Linked DNA regions of Homo sapiens: regions 2 and 3 are each linked to region 1. The links are contacts of gene promoters, found by promoter capture Hi-C in human tissues and cell types (Jung and others, 2019). All regions are on one chromosome and are shown on one strand. The core of a region is centred on a gene start or on the middle of the fragment in contact, and the rest is flanking DNA. Distances in the headings are between cores, read along the strand shown.

Evidence for each region. The method cuts DNA at HindIII sites, captures the fragments that hold promoters and counts their contacts. A contact is called where the count stands out against the background at its distance.
Region 2: a fragment that was not itself captured here is called in contact with the fragment with the promoter of TPBG in region 1 in 2 of the 25 tissues and cell types used here (H1 embryonic stem cells and aorta).
Region 3: a fragment that was not itself captured here is called in contact with the fragment with the promoter of TPBG in region 1 in 3 of the 25 tissues and cell types used here (dorsolateral prefrontal cortex, hippocampus and spleen).

The regions. Positions count from the first base shown.
Region 1 is chr6:82,362,184-82,365,537 of GRCh38, forward strand. TPBG (trophoblast glycoprotein) reads left to right here and starts at 1,634. Exons shown (of 2, transcript NM_001376922.1): 1 at 1,634-1,725; 2 at 2,440-3,354. The coding sequence starts at 2,779. It overlaps LOC105377875 (a long non-coding RNA gene), which reads right to left and starts at 1,474. Exons shown (of 3, transcript XR_942738.4): 1 at 1,429-1,474. RefSeq lists enhancers at 1,067-1,580, 1,581-2,092, 2,244-3,146, 3,147-3,354 and a silencer at 3,115-3,194. The HindIII fragment of the contact is 6,837 bases long and covers 1-2,638 here.
Region 2 is chr6:82,454,679-82,458,032 of GRCh38, forward strand. No RefSeq gene overlaps it. Among named protein-coding and RNA genes, the nearest start is that of TPBG, 93 kb to the left of the region's middle. The HindIII fragment of the contact is 4,770 bases long and covers 1-3,354 here.
Region 3 is chr6:82,431,152-82,434,505 of GRCh38, forward strand. No RefSeq gene overlaps it. Among named protein-coding and RNA genes, the nearest start is that of TPBG, 69 kb to the left of the region's middle. The HindIII fragment of the contact is 7,212 bases long and covers 1-3,354 here.

The DNA.
Region 1 (3,354 bases), core at 384-2,883:
AGAGTTAATACCATGCCAGAGCATTATTACAGGTTTTTTCCAATGAGTAATTAATTTTATTTTTAAACTTATCATACAGTAAAATTGACTCTTTTGGTTTACAAAGTTCTATGAGTTATAACACGTTGTATAGGTTTATGTAACCACCACCACAATCCGGATACAGAACATGACTACAGCTTTAGAGATTCTTTTTCAAAGTGTTTTACATTCATGTTGCAAAACACTTTTAAAAATAAGAAAAGAGATGTAGATAAACGTGCTGAAGATGCAAATTAATGAAACCAGCTTTTGTGCACAAATCTCTGCAGTTTCCAGTGTTTTCAGCTTTTGTCTGAGCCATTTTTGCTGTCGGCTTTGCAGACTATCTCTTTCTATAAAAGTAATCAGGCGTCCGTTGGAGAGTTGGGGTCTTTCTTCACACTAAAGGCACATGTCCCAGGCACAAGCCTCAGGATCCTTATTTGATCTTTTTTAATACGACCAGGTCTTAAATTTCCGAACCATGTTTTCCCTAATTGCCATTTTCTCTCTAAAATGAAGAAGCCTGGAAGAACCTTCTTATCCCTTCGGGGAAATTATTTAATTGGGACAAAGGGGATGTGGAGTTACAGAGAGCAACGATAGGGCTTTCAGAACCCAAAACCTGTCTGGTATAATAACAGATCCTTCCGGTAACCAACCATTCAATTTGTCCCTCTCCCCAACCCCATCCTCTCCATCACCATCTGCCAGATGCCCCCTGGGACAATCGACTTTGAAACCAAACTTCTCTCCCAGGTCAGCTCCTGCAATCCCCACTCCTCATCCTTGGAGCTTTCTCCACAGAAGTGACTTGACACACCGCGCTACATCTGGGGAGGGGGGCGGGTCCGCTTTCCGGGAGACTCAAGTCTTTGCTATTTGCCTTTTGTTTCTGGGATGCCTTTGGCTGCCTTTCTCTTCCATCTGCTTTTAATTTTGGTAAGAGAAAAGCTAATGAATCAGGAATGAATCTCCTCTCCACTAATCTTTTTTTTTTCTTTCTCTCTCTCTCTCTCTTAAAGTTGGCGCGCTCTCTTCACAAGTTCCATCACTACCCAAGAAGTGAGGGGGCGGGGGGGACAGGCGGGAAGGCATTAATTACACCTAAATCTGAAGTTTGCGGCCTCAAGTACCACTTTGATGGGGAGAGCTTCTGAAGCTTCCATACAACCTGCCGTGCCTTTGCTGCTGCCGCAGTAGATTTTCAGCTCATTTCTTTCTGCTGCTGCTTCGCGCTGCTCTGTCATGCCTAAATCTATCTCGTCACTGCCAAAGGTGCCTGAATCAGGGTGAATTCCACGAGATTCACCAGCGGTTTTGCTCCAGTCCAAGGTAAATACAGTATGCAAAATGAGGAACCACCCAAGGATGTCGGGGAGGGGGGAGAGAAAGGGATTCCCTCACCTTTTCCGGCACATTCCTCGTTAATTTCCACCAGGAGGAGGCGCGCAGCCCAGCTCCCCTAGTCTCTCTTCTTAAATCCCCCTACCTACGGCTGCCGAGGTTGGCCGCGCGTCGGGAATCTCCCCGACAGTCCTGGCCCTCCCCCGCCCCCCGGGTTGGTTTTTCCCAGCTGCGGAGGTTGGGAGGTTGGGCCAGGGGCTGGGGTGCGAAGAGAGTCGGCGCCCGCAACGCGGAGCCGGGAAGTCGTCGCTACTCTGGTGGAACTCAGAGTTGGTTCTGGAGGCGGCGGACGCGGAGGTGAGCAGTGGGAGCCCGCGGCCTGGGAGAGACCCGGGAGGCGTCGTTGGGGCCCCTCCCCATCCTCGGGTGGAGAGTAGGGTTGGTTCGGGTTGCCACTGTACCCCGAGTCCCACTGCTGCTTTGTTCCCAGACTCTCCCCTCCTCTTTGGAGATGACTTGAACCCCTTTGAGATCCGAGGGGCTGGCGGGGCGCGGGCTGGGGGGCGACAGTTGTAGCTCCACTTCCTGCTAATGCGAGAAGGTACAAAAAGAGATCAAAAAGTCCTGTAACCTGAAACTTCCCTCGCATCCTAACCGGGACCTGGTGGAGAGGTCTGGGCGGGGGCGGAGACACCCGGAGGCCGACCTTCCGCCGAGGCGGTGCAGGAAGGAACGGGAGAGGGAGAAGTTTGGTAGGGAAGGAATTGGGGATTAAGCGGTAAGTTAGACGCGGGAGACGAGTCTCCTCGGGAAAGGCGGAGGGCGGGAGGCCGGTCGGGTTTATTTAGTGTGGGCCAGGGAAGAAGGAAGACTTTGCGGTCTGGGTGTCGGATGCGCGTCCCCCTCCGGAGTAAAAGTGACCGGAGGGGTTGGGGAGGCGAGGCCGGGGCGGGCTTTTGGAAGGAGGTCTCTGGGACAGACTGGAGACGACTAGACTCGAAAAGGCCGGTTTTTGCACTCCGGAAGCCGCGGCAGCCACCGCTGTTCACGCCTCTCTCCTGCTTGTCCCAGGTCCCTCAGAGGATCCAGCGAGGGGCGCCAACAAGAGGCGAAGAGGTGGCACCAGGGCGGCGGCAGGAAGAGGAGCGGGAGCAGGAGCGCGGAGCGGAGCGTCCCGACCCGCCGTGCGTACTTTCTGGAGGGAAGGGGCGGGGGAATCGGCCCCTGAGGGAAGCGCCCGGTGGCGAGGGGGTTAGCCAAGTTCCGGCTGCGGCGCCACTCCCTCGGTTCCACGAGAGGAAAGTTTTTTTTTTCCAGACGCTTCCGCCGGCTCGCGCCCTCCGGGCCCAGCCTCCCGAGCCTTCGGAGCGGGCGCCGTCCCAGCCCAGCTCCGGGGAAACGCGAGCCGCGATGCCTGGGGGGTGCTCCCGGGGCCCCGCCGCCGGGGACGGGCGTCTGCGGCTGGCGCGACTAGCGCTGGTACTCCTGGGCTGGGTCTCCTCGTCTTCTCCCACCTCCTCGGCATCCTCCTTCTCCTCCTCGGCGCCGTTCCTGGCTTCCGCCGTGTCCGCCCAGCCCCCGCTGCCGGACCAGTGCCCCGCGCTGTGCGAGTGCTCCGAGGCAGCGCGCACAGTCAAGTGCGTTAACCGCAATCTGACCGAGGTGCCCACGGACCTGCCCGCCTACGTGCGCAACCTCTTCCTTACCGGCAACCAGCTGGCCGTGCTCCCTGCCGGCGCCTTCGCCCGCCGGCCGCCGCTGGCGGAGCTGGCCGCGCTCAACCTCAGCGGCAGCCGCCTGGACGAGGTGCGCGCGGGCGCCTTCGAGCATCTGCCCAGCCTGCGCCAGCTCGACCTCAGCCACAACCCACTGGCCGACCTCAGTCCCTTCGCTTTCTCGGGCAGCAATGCCAGCGTCTCGGCCCCCAGTCCCCTTGTGGAACTGATCCTGAACCACATCGTGCCCCCTGAAGATGAGCGGCAGAAC
Region 2 (3,354 bases), core at 429-2,928, 93 kb after region 1:
TGATGGTTAGTGATGTGGAGCACTTGTTCATAGATTTGTTGGGTGCTTATATGTCTTCTTTTGAGACACGTCCGTGTCATTTGCTATTATTTAATGCGGTTGTTTTTTGCTTGTTCGTTTGTTTAAGTTCCTTAGAGATTCTGGATATCAGACCTTTATCAAATGCATAGTTTGCCAATATTTTCTCCCATTCTTTTTACTCTGTTGATAGTTTCTTTTGTATAGCAGAAACTCTTTAGTTTAATTAGATCCCACTTGTCCATTTTTGTTTTAGTTGCAACTGCTTTTGAGGACTTAATCATAAATTATTTTCCAAGGCTGATGTCCAAAATGGTGTTTCCTAGGTAATCTTCATGGATTCTTACAGTTTGAGATCTTACATTTAAATCTTTAATCTATCTTGAGTTGATTTTTGCATATGGTGAAAGGTAGGGATCCAATTTCATTCTTCTGCATATGGCTGCCAGTTATCCTAGCACCATTTATTGAATAGGGAGTCCTTTCCCCATTGATTATTTTTATTGGTTTTGTCAAACATCAGATGGCTGTAGGTGTGTGGCTTTATTTCTGGGCTCTCTATTCTGTTCTACTGGTCTATGTGTCCATTTTCGTACCAATATAATGCTGTTTTTATTTTTGTAACCTTACAGTATATTTTGAAGTTGGGTAATGTGATGCCTTTGGCTTTGTTATTTTTGCTTAGGATTGCTTTGGCTGTTTGGGGCTGTTTTTTGGTTCTATATGAATTTTAGAATAGATTTTCTAGTTCTGCAAAAACTGACATAGATGGCTCTTATTACTTTGAGGTATGATCCTTTGATGTGTAGTTTATTGAGGGTTTTTATCATAAAGAGATATTGGATTTTATCAAAAGTTTTTTCCACATCTATTGAGATGATCATATGTTTTTTAAAAATTCTGTTTATGTGAATCACATAAAACCTTTATCATGGTTTATTGATAAAGCTTTCAATTGTATTTTGAATTCTGTTTATGGTGAATCACATTTATTGATTTGCATATGTTGAACCAACCTTGCATGCCAGGAATGAACACTACTTGATCATGGTGAATTGATTTTTTGATGTGCTGTTGGATTCTATTTGCTAGTATTTTGCTGAGGATTCTTTCATCTACGTTCATCAGGAATATTGGAATATAGTTTTCCTTTTTCATTGTGTCTTTGCCAGATTTTGGTATTAGGGTGATGCTGTCTTTGTAGAATGAGCTAGGGAGGAGTCCCTCGTCCTCAATTTTTTTTGAATAGTTTCAGTAGAATTGGGACAAACTCTTCTTTGTATGTCTGGTAGAATTTGGCTGTGAATCCTTCTGGTCTGGGTTTTTTTTTTTTTTGGTTGGTAGGTTTTTTAAATTGCAATTCAACTTTGGAATTTGATATTGGTCTGTTCAGAGTTTCAGTTTCTTCCTGATTCAATCATGGGAGATAGTGTGTTTCCGAGAATTTATTTATTAACTCTAGATTTTCTAGATTATGTGCATAAAGGTGTTCCTAATAGTCTCTGAGGATATTTTATATTTCTGTGGGATCAGTTGTAATGTCACCTTTGTCATTTCTGATTGTGCTTATTTGGATCTTCTCTCTTTTTTTCTTTATTAATCTAGCTAGTGGTCTATCAATCTTGTTTATCCTTTCAAATGACCAATTTTTGGTTTTGTTGATTATTTTTATGGATTTTTGAGTTTCAATTTTGTTCAGGTCCACTTCGATTTTAGTCATTTCTTTTCTTCTGCTAGTGTTGGGGTTTGTTTCTGCTTTTCTAGTTCCTCTGGCAGTGATGTTAGATCATTAATTTGAGATCTAACTTTTTTTTTCTTTTTTTTTTTAAGACAGAGTCTCGCTCTGTTGCCCAGGCCAGAGTGCAGTGGCACAATCTTGGCTCACTGCAAGCTCTATCTCCTGGGTTCACGCCATTCTCCTGCCTCAGCCTCCTGAGTAGCTGGTACTACAGGTGCCTGCTACCATGCCTGGCTAATTTTTTGTATTTTTTTTTTTTTTTAGTAGAGATGGGGTTTCACCGTGTTAGCCAGGATGGTCTCGATCTCCTGACCTTGTGATCCGCCCACCTCAGCCTCCCAAAGTGCTGGGATTACAGGTGTGAGCCACCGCGCCTGGCCGAGATCTAATGTTTAGACATAGGCATTTAGTGGAATAAACTTTCCTCTTAACCCTGTTTTTACTGCATTCCAGAGATTTTGGTATGTTGTGTCTCTGTTTTCATTTATTTCAAAGAATTAATTTTCTTGTTTGCCCAAAAGTCATTCAGGAGCAAGTTAAGTGTATTTTTGTTGTAGCAGGTATCATTCTTTCATTTAATTTCCATCTAATTGTGTGGTTTTGAGAGACCTTCTTGGTATTGATTTCTATTTTTATTCCACTGTGTTCTGAGATTATCGTTGTTGTGTTTTCAATTTTTTAAATTTGTTGAAACTTGCTTTATGGCTGGGTATGTAGTCAATCTTAGAGTATTTTCCATGTGCAGATGAGAAGAATGTATATTGTATAGTTAATGGTGGAGTATTCTGTAGATGTCTGCTAGGCCTAGTTGGTCAAGTGTTGAGTTTTTAAGTCCAGAATGTCTTTGTTAGTTTTCTGCCTAAATGATCTGTCTAATGCTGTCAATGGGGTATGAAAGTCCCCTGCTATTACTGTGTGGCTATATAAGTCTTTCCATAAGTCTAGAGGTATTTGCTTTAGTAATCTGGATGCTCCATTGTTGGGTGCATATATATTTAGGATAGTTAAGATTTCTTGCTGAATTGAACCCTTTATCATTGTGTAATACCCTTCTTTGTTTTTTTCTACTGTTGTTGGTTTAAAGTCTGTCTTATCTGATGTAAGAATAGTCACCTCTGCTCCTTTTTGTTTTCTGTTTGCATAGTAGATCTTTCTCCAACTCTTTAAGCTCATGGGTTTTTTTTTTTTTTATGTGTGAGATAGGTTTCTTGAAGACACCAGATAGATAGTTCTTACATTTTGTTTTTAATCAAACTTGCCACTCTGTGCCTTTTAAGTGAGGTGTTTAAACCATTTACATTCAAAGTTAATACTGAAATGTGACATTTGATCCTATCATGAAGTTCCTAGCTGGTTGCTTTGTAGTTTATATTGTGTGGCTGCTTTATAGGGTCTGTGGGCTATGTATTCAAGTGTGTTTTCATGGTAGGAGGTATCATTCTTTCATTTCCATGTTTAGAATTCCCTAAAGGATCTCTTGTAAGGCCAGTCTAGTGGTAAATAATTCCCTTAGTGCTTGTTTGTCCAGAATATATTTTATTCCCCTTTGCTTATGAAGCTTAGTTTGGTGGGATATGAAATTCTTGACCAGAATTTCT
Region 3 (3,354 bases), core at 520-3,019, 69 kb after region 1:
ATACATATAAAGCACCTGGTACCATGTCTGACACATAGTAAATACTAAACAAATGGAAACATTTTCATTCATTCAAGCAAATGTTTATGTAACTTGATTCTTTCCACTTCCCTATCTCTACTGCTGTCACCCTGGTCAGGTTATCCTGATCCATCTCCTCAGTGCTTCTTCAGTAGCCTCCTAAATTATCTCCTCACCTGGCCCTAGGGTGATGAAAGAAAGCCTGACTGATAAATTAAGATTTAAGTGAAGTATGGATATACCTGGAAAAAGTGTTTTGGTGGGAAGTGGAAGGGGCAGAGAGGAGAAAAGAAATATCAAACAGCCAGAGTGTTCAGATGGAAATCCAGTTCTGTGAGTTTTAAAAAGTGGTATTCTTTTTATTTTGCTCAACAATGTGAAAACACTCTTGATAAGAATTCTTGACACAGTGAAAGTGAAATGTGTTATTTCTTTCTTCTTTGTTGCCTGCCAAAAACAAAACTTATGGATTGACCTATGAGAGGAAAGCATGTCAGTTGCAAGCAGAGCACACCCCAGAGAGAAGGCGCACCAGGCTCCAGGCCACTCTACTATCAAAATCAAATGTTGACTTTTTAAATATTAAAGATGAAGGTTGCTATTGAATCAATATTAAAGCAGGTGGGACACCAGGATGAGGTCTCTTCCATCAAGCACTTACTTTTTATAGTTTAGTCTAAATAGTATTTGATCCTTCTGCAAAAACCTTTAGACTCCTTTGTGAATGAAACAGGTATACCATGGCTTAGTTACCCCAAATCTGGCATTTTAACATTTTGATGTAAAATGACAACAGGGGTGAGTCAAATAGAGGCCTTTAACTCAAATCTACAAAAAAGAAAAGAAAAGAAAGAAAGAAAACCATTACGATGCCTGCCTGTGAATTATGAAGGGAAATGCTGAATTTATAACCTGCAAATGCCGAATTCATAACCTGCATGTTTGCCTGCGCAAAACCAATCAGTTTATGTACATTTTCCAGTGATATGTCTATTTTTTCCTAAGTAATATGTTGGCTTGGGTCTTCCATAGGCTTAAACTCTGACAAAACACACAACATAGATTTTTGCTACGTAGGCAGGATATTAACAAGCTGCTTTAATACGGCAATTAGCTATTTTGTTTTTCCCCTCTATCTTGACTGTTCTGGAAGGGCTTAAAGTTTAAACTGTCTTTGCCCTCTATGAAAAGGAGAACTGGCTTCTGATTAATTAAAGCTCTGGGTTTGATGGTAAGAAGGATTTCTTTTTTTCACAAGAGACTTAAAAGAACAGAAATTTGTATCTCCGTTCAAAATGCAGGCAGAAAAGAGGAGGATTTGTCCCAGGCTAGAAAATATTCCCTCAGGCTGAGGTGGAGCGTGGGGAAGAAGTAGAGAGCTGCAACACTCTATAGAAGAAAGGACTGTGAAAATGTATAGGTAGAAGGCCTCATGGGTGACCTTGCCAGGACTCCTGCACCTCACATATGGCATGAAAGCCACCAAGGACACCATGAGGGGCAGTGTTCAAATGTTCACAAATGGGAAGGGAGCTGAGCACCATCCTTCATTCCTGCAAGCGTGGCCATCATTGGCCTTGCAAGCCCTGACCTGGCTGTCTACAGCCTTGCCAGCATGGGTCATGCTTCTTACATGCATGGGCAATCTACACCCAGGGATCTTGTTTGTTGCTCCTTTCATTGATATGTCATCAGCAAGCACCTCTGCAGAGGCCAGGTACCAGGACGGTTGCTTATCTGTGCCCCTAGGCTTTATGAGACCTTCTCTGAGTGGGTAGCTTTCCTCAACATTTCAGAACACCCACAGAACAACAACAAAAAACATTTAGGTGAAGCAACTTCAAATCCTTTGAGCTAGGATAAAGATTAACGATGACTCCATTATACAACTTAATTAAGAATTTATATTGGTCCCTTATAAATACACATACATTGTTTAGCAAACCTTATTTGGCGACACTGCAAAAACTGGAAACTTCTTTATTATACTTTCCTCACAGGAGAGATTTCAATAATTATTCTCACTGAACCCCTAAATAGAACATTGGAATGTTTAATACCCAGAGTCTTGAAAAGAATGAACCTCTTATTATGCCTTAAGAAATGCATTTTGTTATAGGAAACCCAGGTTCTACCTTCAACCCCCAAGTTCTCCCTTTTCAGTTAGCAAGAAATGCCAACTATGGGATGTGGAGCTCCTGAACTGTTAAATATTATAAATCAGTGTCATTATTTTGATGATTTCCAAGAGAGATGACTAAGGGAAACTGCATCAAGATACAGGAAAAGAGATACCTACTGACTGCATGAACTTATTTCCAACACATTCTCTTGCCATAATCTCCCCTCCAACCAGTTCCTAATGGTAATGCAGCACTGGGCCCTCCTTTTCATCAATGGATTACCCAGAGACAGAGTCATAGTGACCCAACTCTCTAACTCAGTTGGAGATATTTTCAGGTAATATGGCAGATTCGGCTGTGTATCCCCATCTCTTTTGGGAATACAATACATTTCCATTGCTTTGGAAATGCCATATTATCAGCATTCTCACTGGACACAAAAGAGCTAGCCAGTATCTATACTTACCCTCTCTGTGTCTTCACTGCCTACCTATGCCATCCCTTACACATACATACACCACCACTCTTTTATAAAAACCACGACAAAGTTAGGATTTTCCCATTTCCTGATAAATGATAAATTCAAAGTAAATAGTCCCATAAAGCTTTTCTTCATTCAAATTATTTGAATCTTACAGATAGGTAGAAAAAAAATCACTGTATCTGAAATAGGTTTGCTATCCCTTAGAGTTTAAACAAATAATGCAGGTATTATAAATTTCCTTCAACTCTCAAGGCAAATGTCTCCAAATATCCAGAGTCCTGACACCATCATCTTTTCATTTTCAGTGAAGAGCATGTGCAGTTTTCCCACCCCTGACGCTATAACTGGCTGGCACATAAAACCCACAGGTACCTGCAGGCAACTGATTATAAAGACACCTCCTTTCCCTAATGTATTGATTCCCACTGCAATCTGCCTGCATCTACTGTACTTCTTGGAAATTGCTCTTGCAAAGATTGCTCATGACCTTGCAGAATCAATCCAGTGAACACATTTTGGTCCTACTTTACTTGGCATCTCCCTTATGCTCTTCTTCCTCTTCTCATTTGACACACTCCCTGGGCAATCTCAGCCATACTCTGGGCTTCAGCTGTCACAAACAGAGTTAGGATTTCTTAACCTGTATTTCTAGCTCCAGCAGCCTCCTAAATATTTCTACCTGGGTGTCCCACAGGCATTTCTCACTCAACATATCCTAACCCTGTT